3 separate regions of the Homo sapiens genome follow, and all the other regions are linked to region 1. Evidence: promoter capture Hi-C in 16 types of primary human blood cells and fetal thymus (Javierre and others, 2016). All regions are on one chromosome and are shown on one strand. The core of a region is centred on a gene start or on the middle of the fragment in contact, and the rest is flanking DNA. Distances in the headings are between cores, read along the strand shown.

Region 1 (3,583 bases), core at 536-3,035:
AGCTTCATAGAGACTCTGGGCGTTCAGCTCCCATGTCACCTCCACCCACCATCCATCCGGCAGGAAGGAGGCCGCGGCCGGTGGCCAGCGTTCAGCAACAGCAGAGGATGAACGCCCTTTCCACAGCCGCTCCAGGAGACGCGCCTGCTGCAGCCCACCTTCCCACCCTCCATCCTGTTTCCCACTCTGAGCCAGCATGCCAGAGAAGGGGAGAATGTCTTAGGCCCCACGGCCCCTGTCACCCCAACCTGCTGCCTGGAGAACTGGAGGCCAGAGGACAGTGGGGAGGGAAGAGGTTTCCCAGGATGGATGCACTGCACCCCGGTCTGCAGCTGTACTGCAGCAAGAACCTCAGGTCCCAGCCCGGCCCCACTCTGCAGGCCGCCTCCATCCCCTCCCTGGCCCTGGAGCCCCTCCAGCCTCTGCCCCTATGGGGACTGGAGCACTGGGGCCCCAAACTCCCTGTCCCAACACTCAAGGTTCCGACCGCCCTCCTCCCTCAGACTCAGGAGTCCAGGCCCCCAGCCCCTCCTCCTTCAGACCCAGGAGTTCAGCACCCCTGCCCCTCCTCCCTCAGACCCAGGAGTCCAGACCCCAGACCCTCTTCCTTCATACTCAGGAGTCCAGGCCCCCAGGCCCTCCTCCCTCAGACCTGAAAGTCCAGGACCGCAGTCCCTCCTCCCTCAAACCCAAAAGTCCAGGACCCCAGTCCCCTCCTCCCTCAGACCCAGAAGTCCAGACCCCCAGCCCCTCCTCCCTCAGACCCTGGAGTCCAGGCCCCCAAGCCCTTCTCCTTCAGACCCAGGAGTGCAGGCCACCAGCCTCTCCTCCCTCAGACTCCGGAGTCCAAGCACAGCCCCTCCTCCCTGAAACCCAGGAGTCCAGACCCCCAGGCCCTCCTCCCTGAAACCCAGGAGTCCAGGCCCCCAGGCCCTCCTCCCTCAGACCTAGGAGTCCAGTGCCCAGCCCCTCCTCCCTCAGACCCAGGAGTCCAGGCCCCCAGCCCCTCTCCTCCAGGACCTGAGTCTGCGCCCCCCACCCCCTCCATCCAGGGACCCAGGAGTCTGAATCCCAAGTCCCTTCTCTATGAGGGGCCCAGGGGTCTGGGCAGCCAGCCCCTGCCATTTGAATACCCTGAGTCCCGCCTCTGCCGCCACCTCCACCCTGCCCCCCGCCCCAGGTGTCCCCTTCTGCTAGGCTCACCTGTCTGTCCTTTGCCCAGCGTCTTCTCCAGCCGATAGGGGCCCACATATTGGGCGTGCTGGGGTGGGTGGGGGTGGGGGTGGGGGAGGTGGTAGGCGGGAGAGCCCCCACCTCCCTCCTTGGCCCCGGACGACATGGTGCCCTTGGTCCCGGCCCGACCGGTCCCCCGGCCGCCCCCCCTGCGGCCGTCGCCCCGTCTCTCCGGTGGGGGCCGGCGACCGCTCCGTCCCGGCCCCCCCGGCTGCCCCCCACCTCTCCGGGGGTCCCCAGGGGGCTGGGCTGGCCCCCCCCAGTCGGCGGGCCGCGGAGCTGGGGGAGGGGGGGCTGGCCCGGGGGGGTCAGGCCCCGGGAGTCAGCATGGCCCAGGGGGGCTGCGGGGCCCCCCCTCCCCAGCCCGTTTCTGGCCGGCCCCCCGCTTCCTGCGCCTCCCCCCGCCGGGGGGGTCTGAGGTGCGGGCCGGCGGATGCTGCAGGCCGAGGTCCCCCCCGCCCCCCCACGCGCCCTCTCTCCTCCGCCTCCTCCTCCTCTCCGCCTCCCCCCGCCACCTCGTCCTTTCTCTCCGGCACGCTGACATCACCATCCGGGGACTCCGGGCCCTTCCCCAAAGTTAACCCTTTCGGAGGGGGGAGGGGGAGCGAGGGGGGGCAGGGGGCGGGCCTCCAGCTGGAGGGATGGAGAGGAGGTGGGAGGATGCAGGAGAGAGGATGGAGGGAAGGATGGAGAGAGAGAGAGAGGACCCAACAGATGGGGCAGAGATGGAGATACACAAAGAGAGATGCTGGCTGACACAGAGACGGGAGACAGGCAGAGACGCCAGAGGGATGGAGACCACCAGAGACAGGCTGAGGCAGAGAGGGAGGAAGGGCAGAGATGGACAGGGACAGAAGAGAAGGAAGGAATGGCAAGCCGGGAAAACAGACAGGGAGAGGGAGAGAAAGCTGCTGGAAGCCGACAGAGGGATGGAGAGAGTCAGAGATTCAGAGAGACAGAGAGAGGAAGACCAACCAGAGAGGTGGGGGAGAGGGGGCGCAGATGGAGCTGTAGAGAGGGCCGGGGGTACACACAGGTGGAGGGACACGTGCTGGGGAGAGGTGGGGACATATGGAGGGAGACAGAGACAGAGAGGGGAAAGAATTCTTGGAGTTGCTGACCCAAAATTCATGTCTGTTTCCCCAGCCCCCTAAGGCCACCCATTCAGGGTAAGGGTAAGTCTGTGTCCCCACCAATGTCAAGGCCCCATATCTACCCACAGCCCAGAGTGATTTTGGATTCTCTTTACAGAGAAGCTTCCAGAACCCCCTCAGTTTCCCTGTGTTATGTTTTTAGACCCCCATATATTCTCTGTGCTCGTCATAGGGTCCTTTATATCTTCATGTGGACCCCAGTACAGCCCATACATCCCCACTGTAGCAGGTCCACAAGCATGTGCTCTGCCTGTGAGTAACCCGCCTGCCCCCATTAGCTTTCCGCATAAACCATAGATCCCTCTATGTCATGTACCCGCAAGTGTTAGACACCCATTTAATTCTCAAGTCCCCTGTAAAGCACACCCAGGGCTGGGCAAGGTGGCTCATGCCTGTAATCCCAATACTTTGGGAGACAGAGGTGGGAAGATCAGCCTGGGCAACACAGTGAGACCCCATCCCTACAAAAATTTTTTTAAAAATTAGCCGGGCATGGTGGCATGTGCCTGTAGTCCCAGCTACTTGGGAGGCTGAGGCTTGAGTCAGTGAGTTCTAGGCTGCAGTGAGCTACGTTTGCACCACTGCACTCCAGCCTGAGCAACAGAGTGAGGCCCTGTCTCTAACAAAAATAAAATAAAATAAAGTGCACACAGGAGCCTATTGGCTCCTGTGAGATTTCCCAGTCCCCCATTCAACACCTTGAGTCCACACATCTTTAATGAGTGCCAAATCTCAGCCAGGCACTGTTCCTGTTGGTAAGAACGTGGCAGTGACCTAAATCAGCAAAAAGGCCTGTCCTGTGGAGCTTCCATGCTGGTGGATGAAACAGATGATCAGCAAGGTCAATAGGCAAAATGTATGGTGTGTTAGATAATCATGTCCGTGCTGAGGAGGTGACTACAGCAGGGAAGGGGGTTAAGAGGGGCCTGTTGAGCAGGGTACAATTTTAGGCGTCCGGCTTTTTTTGTATTTTTAGTAGAGATGGAGTTTCACCCTGTTAGCCAGGCTGGTTCTGTAGCCTTTTTTTTTTTTTTTTTTTTTTTTTTTTTTTTTTTTTGAGACGGAATCTTGCTCTGTCTCCCAGGCTGGAGTGCAGTGGCACAATCTCAGCTCACTACAACCTCCACATCCTGGGTTCAAGCGATTCTCCTGCCTCAGCCTCCCGAGTAGCTGGGATTATAGGCACCCGCCACCAT
Region 2 (3,583 bases), core at 1-2,500, 170 kb after region 1:
TTTTCGTGGCTCCCTCTGGAGTCCCGACTTGCTGGGACACCGTGGCTGGGGTAGGTGCGGCTGACGGCTGTTTCCCACCCCCAGGCCTGCATTGATGAGAACCTGGAGGTGGTGCGCTTCTTGGTGGAGCAGGGCGCCACTGTGAACCAGGCAGACAACGAGGGCTGGACGCCACTGCACGTGGCCGCCTCCTGTGGCTACCTAGATATCGCCAGGTGAGGCAAGGGAGGGCCGGGCAGGACCTGGTCGGGGTGGGGGCCTGGACCCTCAGCCCTGACCAGCCCCCACCCCCAGGTACCTCCTGAGCCACGGGGCCAACATCGCCGCCGTCAACAGTGACGGGGACCTGCCCCTGGACCTGGCCGAGTCGGACGCCATGGAGGGGCTGCTGAAGGCGGAGATCGCCCGCCGAGGTGGGCTCTGGTGTGCTGTGTGTGGGGTGGGGGACACCTCCTCACCCGTGGTCTCCAGGCTGAGAGCTTTAGAGGCGGCCTGGGCACCGAGGCTGACCCTGCTTCCTAGGATTGTCTTTCTTTGTGCCTCAGTTTCCTCACCTGTGAAATGGGGGTGTAGGGGCCTGCCTCCAGGATTGCTTGGAGCCCAGCACACGCACAGGATGAGAACTCAAACCCCTACCAACTGGGACTGTCAATCCCCCTGAGTAACTGAGGGGATTGGAATGCCGGGGCGGGGTGGGTGGGTGGAGGGACTCACCCAGGAGTGCGTTAGGTAGGATTGCTGGAACCCTGCCGCAGGTCTTTCTGGGAGGGGATGCGTTTACTTGGGGGGGAGTAGGGGCATGCAGGGGTTGCCAGGGACTGGTCTCCCTGTCCTCTGAGACTCATCGTACCCCAGGAGCCTTCATATGGGGTCCAGGAGCCCCTGAAACTGTGTCTGGCCAGGTTCATTTTTCTAGGGAAGGGGTGTTGCTTCTAGCAGGTGTGTGATGGCCACACAGGATCCCTGGGTCCCCAGCATGTCTTCTAAAGTCCTGGGCTTGCCTCCCAGCTCTGCCTGTGACTGGTGACTCCAGGCACGTCCCTGAAGCTTGCTTCCCTGATTTCCTAAAACAGGACCACTGGTGCCGCTTCATGGGGTGGTTGTCAGGGTCTGGCTGGGTTGGAGTGGAAGGGTGTGAGCATGGTTCCCGGCAGACTCCAGGGGACCGTGTGGAAGGAAAGGGAGACTGACGAGGAAATGAGATACCGGCAGCCTCCGAGACTTCTGACGCGGCTGTCCTGACGGGGCCGCTGGCCAGGCTGAAAGGATAGGATTCCGCGTGGGTTCAGGGGTCCACGAGAGCCATGCGGGAGGACTAGCTAGTGGGACACGTGACGGCGGAGATCTGAGGTTCGGGAGCCCCTCTTTGGTTGAAATGGGGAGTGGGTCAAATCAGCCCTGGACCTGGATTCTGTCTCCTTCCTCCTCCAACTTTTTATTTTGGGAAAGCTTCAGATTTACAGAAAAGTTGAAGCAATAGCATGTGACTACCCATATGACTTTCACTAAGATTCGCCAGTGCTTTTTCTTTTTTGTTTTTGTTTTTTAGACAGCTTTTTGAGATGTAATTCACCTACCCTACAATTCACCCAAAGTGCACACTTCAGTGCTTTTTAGTCTATTCACGGGGTCGGGCATTTATGACCACATTGGTTGTAGAACATTTTCATCATCCCCCAACGAAACCCTGCAACCGCTTAGCCATCACCCCCAACCATGCACCCCCCCCTCCCCCCCACCCCACGAAGCCCTCTCTGCCTTCTGTCTGTGGATTTGCTGTTTTGTACACTTCACATAAAGGGAATCATACAGTATAGAATCATCAGCTTTTAACTTTTTGATAGATTTGTGTTCCTTCTCTCTGTCCCTCCCTTGCGATCTCTTCCCAGGTATAGACATAAACACATTTTTTCCTATCCTTTCTCCTCCTGTTTTTTTCCCTCCATCTCTCCCTTCCTTTCTTACCACCCCACCCCTGCCTTTCCATTCCTGAGCCTTTTTTTTTTTTTTGAAACAGAGTTTCACTTTTTGCCCAGGCTGGAGTGCAATGGCATGATTTCGGCTCACTGCAACCTCCACCTCCTGGGTTCAAGCGATTCTCCTGCCTCAGCTTCTGGGTAGCTGAGATTACAGGCGTGAGCCAGCATGCCCAGCTAATTTTGCATTTTTAATAGAGATGGGGTTTCACCATGTTGACCAGGCTGGTCTCCAACTCCTGACCTCAGGCGATCTGCTGGCCTCGGCCTCGCAAAGTGTTGGGATTACAGGCGTGAGCCCGGCCATTCTGAGACTGTGTTGCAGGCATTGTACATCTTCGCCTGATGCACAGCAGGTATCTCCTGCCACAAGGAAAACCTCCTGCAGAACCACAGTAGGGATGCAACACGCTACCCCCTGTGTTGACCTTGATGCTACACTCTCACCCACCGCACCAACCTTGATGCTACACTCTCACCCACCGCACCAACCTTGATGCTACACTCTCACCCACCGCACCAACCTTGATGCTACACTCTCACCCACCGCACCAACCTTGATGCTACACTCTCACCCACCGCACCAACCTTGATGCTACACTCTCACCCACTGCACCAACCTTGATGCTACACTGTTGCCTGCGTTTCTCCTTGACATTCTTTGTAGCCTCTCCCGCTCTGGTTCAGGGCCCAGCTAGGGATCCAGATCTGGGTGATTTAGGCTCCCTCTGTCTGGATCAGTCCTCCTTTTCCCTTGGACCCCAGGGAGGCCGGGAATGGCCTCCAGGGGGTCTGTGAACTTTCTGACGTTGTATTTTCCTGCAGAAATTGCTCATAACTTGCATCAGCTTCTCAGAGGGGGCCATGCTTCTTCCCTCCCGTGGGGTGAGGAGAAGGCTGGGAGGGATACATTGGTGGGGGATATTGGCTTGTAGGATCAGCCAGGAACGAAGACCACTGGGGCCACTGGAAAGACCCTCAGCCGTGCTGCTCGGGGTGGGACTCTGCGGCCCCAAATCACAAGGCGACTGCCTGTGACACCCTGTGACACCCGGCTCCACACAGGAGCCTCAGAGGGGCTGCAGTGCGCAGGACCTGGATCACAGGCTGCACCCCAGCTCTAAGGAGGGCGGGTCTTTTGCACCCCCTGCAGGACACGCCCACATGATGCAGAATTCCCCGAGGTGCTGGCATCCAGACTGGCTCTGGCCATAGTGTGGCCCTGGCAGCCACTCACAGGCAGGGCTGGGAGAGAAGACAGACCGGCCTCAGGCACGACCATCCCCTTCGCTTTCCCTGGCTTACTTGCTGTTTTCCTCTCTCTGGGTCTGGGGTTCAGTGAGAGCACGTGATCTGCTCAGCCAGTCACCTCGTGGCCTGGAGCCACCGCTCCCTCCAACACCGCAAAGTCCTCTGGCCCAGTCGACTCAGGGGCTGAATCGGGCATGACTCTTTGCAAGAACCAAAACCCGTTCCTCCTGGCTCAGGCCGGAAAAGGCCATTTGAGGCCTGGCACAGTGGCTCAGACCTGTAAGCCCAGCACTTTGGGAGGCCAAGATGGGAGGATCTCTTGAGCCCAGGAGTTTGAGACCAGCCTGGGAAACCTA
Region 3 (3,583 bases), core at 559-3,058, 140 kb before region 1:
AGCCCAAACTCCCCCCTTTTATGATGACACTGATGACGTTAGATTAGGAGCCTCCCAGATAACGTCATTTTAACTTGCTCGTCTGCAAAGACCCTCTCTCCAAATAAGGTCACAGTCACAGGGACTGGGTAGTTAGGACTCAAACGTCTTTTTTGAGAGACATAATTCGACCCATAAGAGGAGGCATGGCATGGTGATGTCCACTGAAGTGTCCATTTTTATGACAATTAGGAAGCATTTTCCAACTGGACATGGTGGCCCACAACCATAATCCTAGCACTTTGGGAGGCTGAGGTATGAGGATTGCTTGAGGCCAGGAGTTCAAGACCAGCCTGGGCAACATAGCAAGGCCTCATCTCTACTAAAAATTTAAAAATAGGCCAGGTGTGGTGGCTCATGCCTGTAATTCCAGCACTTTGGGAGGCCGAGGCAGGTGGATCGCCTGAGGTCAGGAGTTCAAGGCTACAGTGAGCTATCACTGCATCACTACACTCCAGCCTGGGCAGAGTGAGACCCTGTCTCAAAAGTAAAAAATAGCCAGGTGTGGTGGCTCACGCCTGTAATCCCAGCACTGTGGGAGGCTGAGGTGGGAGGATTACTTGAGGTCAGGAGTTTGAGACGAGCCTGGCCAATGTGGTGAAACCATGTCTCTACTAAAAACACAAAAATCAGCTGGATGTGGTGGTGCGCACCTGTAGTCCCAGCTACTCGGGAGGCTGAGGCAGGAGAATCACTTGAACCCGGGAGGCAGAGGTTGCAGTGAGCTGAGATCGCACCACTGCATTCCAGCCTGGGCAACAGAGCAAGACTTTGTCTCAAAAATAAAAAATACAAAAAGGAAGCATTCTCCCTGCCTGCTTCCCTTTCCCACCCAGTGCATTAAAACATTTGCACAGTGCTGACGAGAGTTGCCTCCTTACCTTAGTGCTCAGATGCAGACTCTGGCCAGGAGGGGAGGTTCCTCTATGTACCAATTTTACGAACTTTAGGAAAATTCTCCCTAGATGCAACTAAATATTTGTCTCTAAGCTTCAGGCTTTCACCTTGCATCTGAGGGTTTGTTTGCGCATCACTCTGGAAAGAGAACTGGAGAGACACAGATAAAAGAGAGGTAGAAAAATACCATGAGGCAGCAACTACCCATCCCCAGTTTGAGACTCCAAGGGGCACGGTTGAATTTTATTTTCTGCTATGCCAGTTCACTAATTCAGTCAACAAAATACAGTGAACGGCACAAACAAGGTCCTTGTTCTTGAGGAACAAGTGAACCCATGGAAGTCCCTCAGTTCTCCCACAAACCTCTCTTGGCTTCTGTTCCTGGCAACCAAGTGCACTGTCACAATGACAGTGATTGTTATAGGGGAAAAAAAAATTAGAAAATCCAGAGAAGGAGATAACAAAATGGAGATCTCCTGATTTCTCACTGCTTAGAGTCAAATGCTGTTTACATTAGCTATGTTTTCTTCTAGAAATTTCCACATGAAAACAATTTTTTTTTTTTTACAAATCAGCCTTCCTATATATAGACTGCTCTGTAACTTCTTTTTTCTTTTACTTCTTTTTTTATTTTGTTTTGTTTTTTGAGATGGAGTCTTGCTCTGTCACCCAGGCGGGAGTGCAGTGGCACAATCTCGGCTCACTGCAACCCCCGCCTCCCAGGTTCAAGCAATTCTCCTGCCTCAGCCTCCCTAGTAGCTGGTACTACAGGTGCGCACCACCATGCCTTGCTAATTTTTGTATTTTTAGTAGAGATGGGGTTTCACCATACTGATCAGGCTGGTCTCGAACTCCTGACCTTGTGATCCACCCGCCTCAGCCTCCCAAAGTGCTGGGATTACAGGCGTGAGCCACCGTGCCTGGCCCATTTTTTTTTTTTTTTTTTTTTTTTTTTTGAGACAAAGTCTCACCCTGTCTCCCAGGCTGGAATGCAATGGCGCGATCTCTGCTCACTGCCACCTCTGCCTCTCAGGTTCAAGCAATTCTCGTGCCTCAGCCTCCTGAGTAGCTGGAACTACAGGCATGCGCCACCACGCCCAGCTAATTTTTGAATTTTTAGTAGAGACCAGGTTTCATCACGTTCACCAGGCTGGTCTCGAACTCCTGACTTCAGGTAATTCTCCTGCCTTGGCCTCCCGAAGTACTGGGATTATAGGCATCAGCCAGCGCACCTGGCCCCTGCTTTTTTCATCTAATAATAGAAGGACATTATGCCATAAGTATAGTTAACTTATCTGCACCCAACTGTATATATAGAAAGAGAAACAGAAATTTAATAGTGCAAGTAAGCTGTATAAAAGAGAATGAGGATGCCTTGGATGTTGCCCACATCACCCAGTGTGAAATAGTCTCCAAGGTTTATTGTTAAGTAAGAAAGCAAGATATAGAATAGTGTGCATGAATGCTACCATTTGTGTAAAAGGAGCGGGGAACAGAATCTGTATATAAATTTGCTGCACCAAATATTTCCAATTCTCCTCCTGGGCACATGGTAGGATTCTATTTCCCTGCCCCCGAAGTTAGCTGTGCCCGTGCGACTTGCCTTGGCCTATGAAGTGCGGGCAGAAGTATCTTTCCAGGCAGAAGCTTGTGAGAGACAGGGTGTGGTTCTCCCATGCTCTGTCTTTTCCCTCCTCCATGGGCACTGGCATATTTCAGGTCATAGCTGCTCTGCTGGCCTGAGTCCCAGGCAGATCAGCCAGGGCCCCAGAGTAAGGATGATGCCAAATAGGGGCTCCACCAGCCGCAGATGCACATGTAGCACGAATGAGAAATAAACTCTTGTTGCTTTAACAACCAGGGCTTTGGGGCTACTTGTTACTGCAGCCTAGCATAGCCCATTCTGGCTGACAGGGTTGCTTATGGAGAGGGGAACTGGATGGCTGGGGCTTTTTACTTCTAAATGCCCTTTTGCACTTCTGGATTTTTGTATCGGCAAGTGTACTCTCTACTGTTTTGTTTTGTTTTTTAGACAGGGTGTTGCTCTATTGCAGAGGCTGGAGTGCAGTGGTGCAATCTCAGCTCACTGCAGCCTTGATTCCCCAAGTGATCCTCAGCCTCCTGACTAGCTGGGATTACAGGTGCCCACCACCAGGCCCCCAGCTAATTTTTGTATTTTTACTAGAGACGGGGTTTCGCCACATTGGCCAGGCTGGTCTCGAACTCCTGACCTCAGATAATCTGCCCACCTCGGCCTCCCAAAGTGCTGGGATTACAGGCATGAGCCACCATGCCTGGCCCTACTTTTTTTTTTTAATAGAATTTTTAAATTCTGCAGCAGGAGAATCGCTTGAACTCAGGAGGAGGAGGTTGCAGTGAGCCAAGATCGCTGAGATCGCCAAGATCGTGCCACTGCACTCCAGCCTGGCTGGCAGAGTGAGACTCTGCCTAATAAATAAATAAATTAATTAATTAATTAATTAACAGAAAAGAAAGAAAAAAGAATTTAAAAAAATATAAATGTAGAGATGGGAATCTGGCTATGCTGACCAGGCTAGTCTTGAACTCCTGACCTCGAGCGATCCTCCCACCTCAGCCTCCCACAGCGTAGATTTAAATGCAAATGGTGCAGACTTTGCCTGCCATT

The links. Contacts are between HindIII fragments. The CHiCAGO score rates a contact against its expected background, and 5 or more counts as called.
Region 2: a fragment that was not itself captured here is called in contact with the fragment with the promoter of BRSK1 in region 1 in 4 of 17 cell types (erythroblasts, total CD8 T cells, naive CD8 T cells and 1 more); the score reaches 7.4 in erythroblasts.
Region 3: a fragment that was not itself captured here is called in contact with the fragment with the promoter of BRSK1 in region 1 in 16 of 17 cell types (M0 macrophages, M1 macrophages, M2 macrophages and 13 more); the score reaches 25.6 in M0 macrophages.

The regions. Positions count from the first base shown.
Region 1 is chr19:55,282,199-55,285,781 of GRCh38, reverse strand. It overlaps BRSK1 (BR serine/threonine kinase 1), which reads right to left and starts at 1,785. Exons shown (of 19, transcript NM_032430.2): 1 at 1,204-1,785. The coding sequence starts at 1,339. The HindIII fragment of the contact is 8,428 bases long and covers 1-2,491 here.
Region 2 is chr19:55,109,297-55,112,879 of GRCh38, reverse strand. PPP1R12C (protein phosphatase 1 regulatory subunit 12C) reads left to right here. Exons shown (of 22, transcript NM_017607.4): 2 at 85-215; 3 at 295-413. Among named protein-coding and RNA genes, the nearest start is that of PPP1R12C, 6.5 kb to the left of the region's middle. The HindIII fragment of the contact is 402 bases long and covers 1,050-1,451 here.
Region 3 is chr19:55,423,955-55,427,537 of GRCh38, reverse strand. It overlaps LOC105372462 (a long non-coding RNA gene), which reads right to left. Exons shown (of 3, transcript XR_936075.3): 3 at 810-1,086. Among named protein-coding and RNA genes, the nearest start is that of SHISA7, 18 kb to the left of the region's middle. The HindIII fragment of the contact is 1,554 bases long and covers 1,032-2,585 here.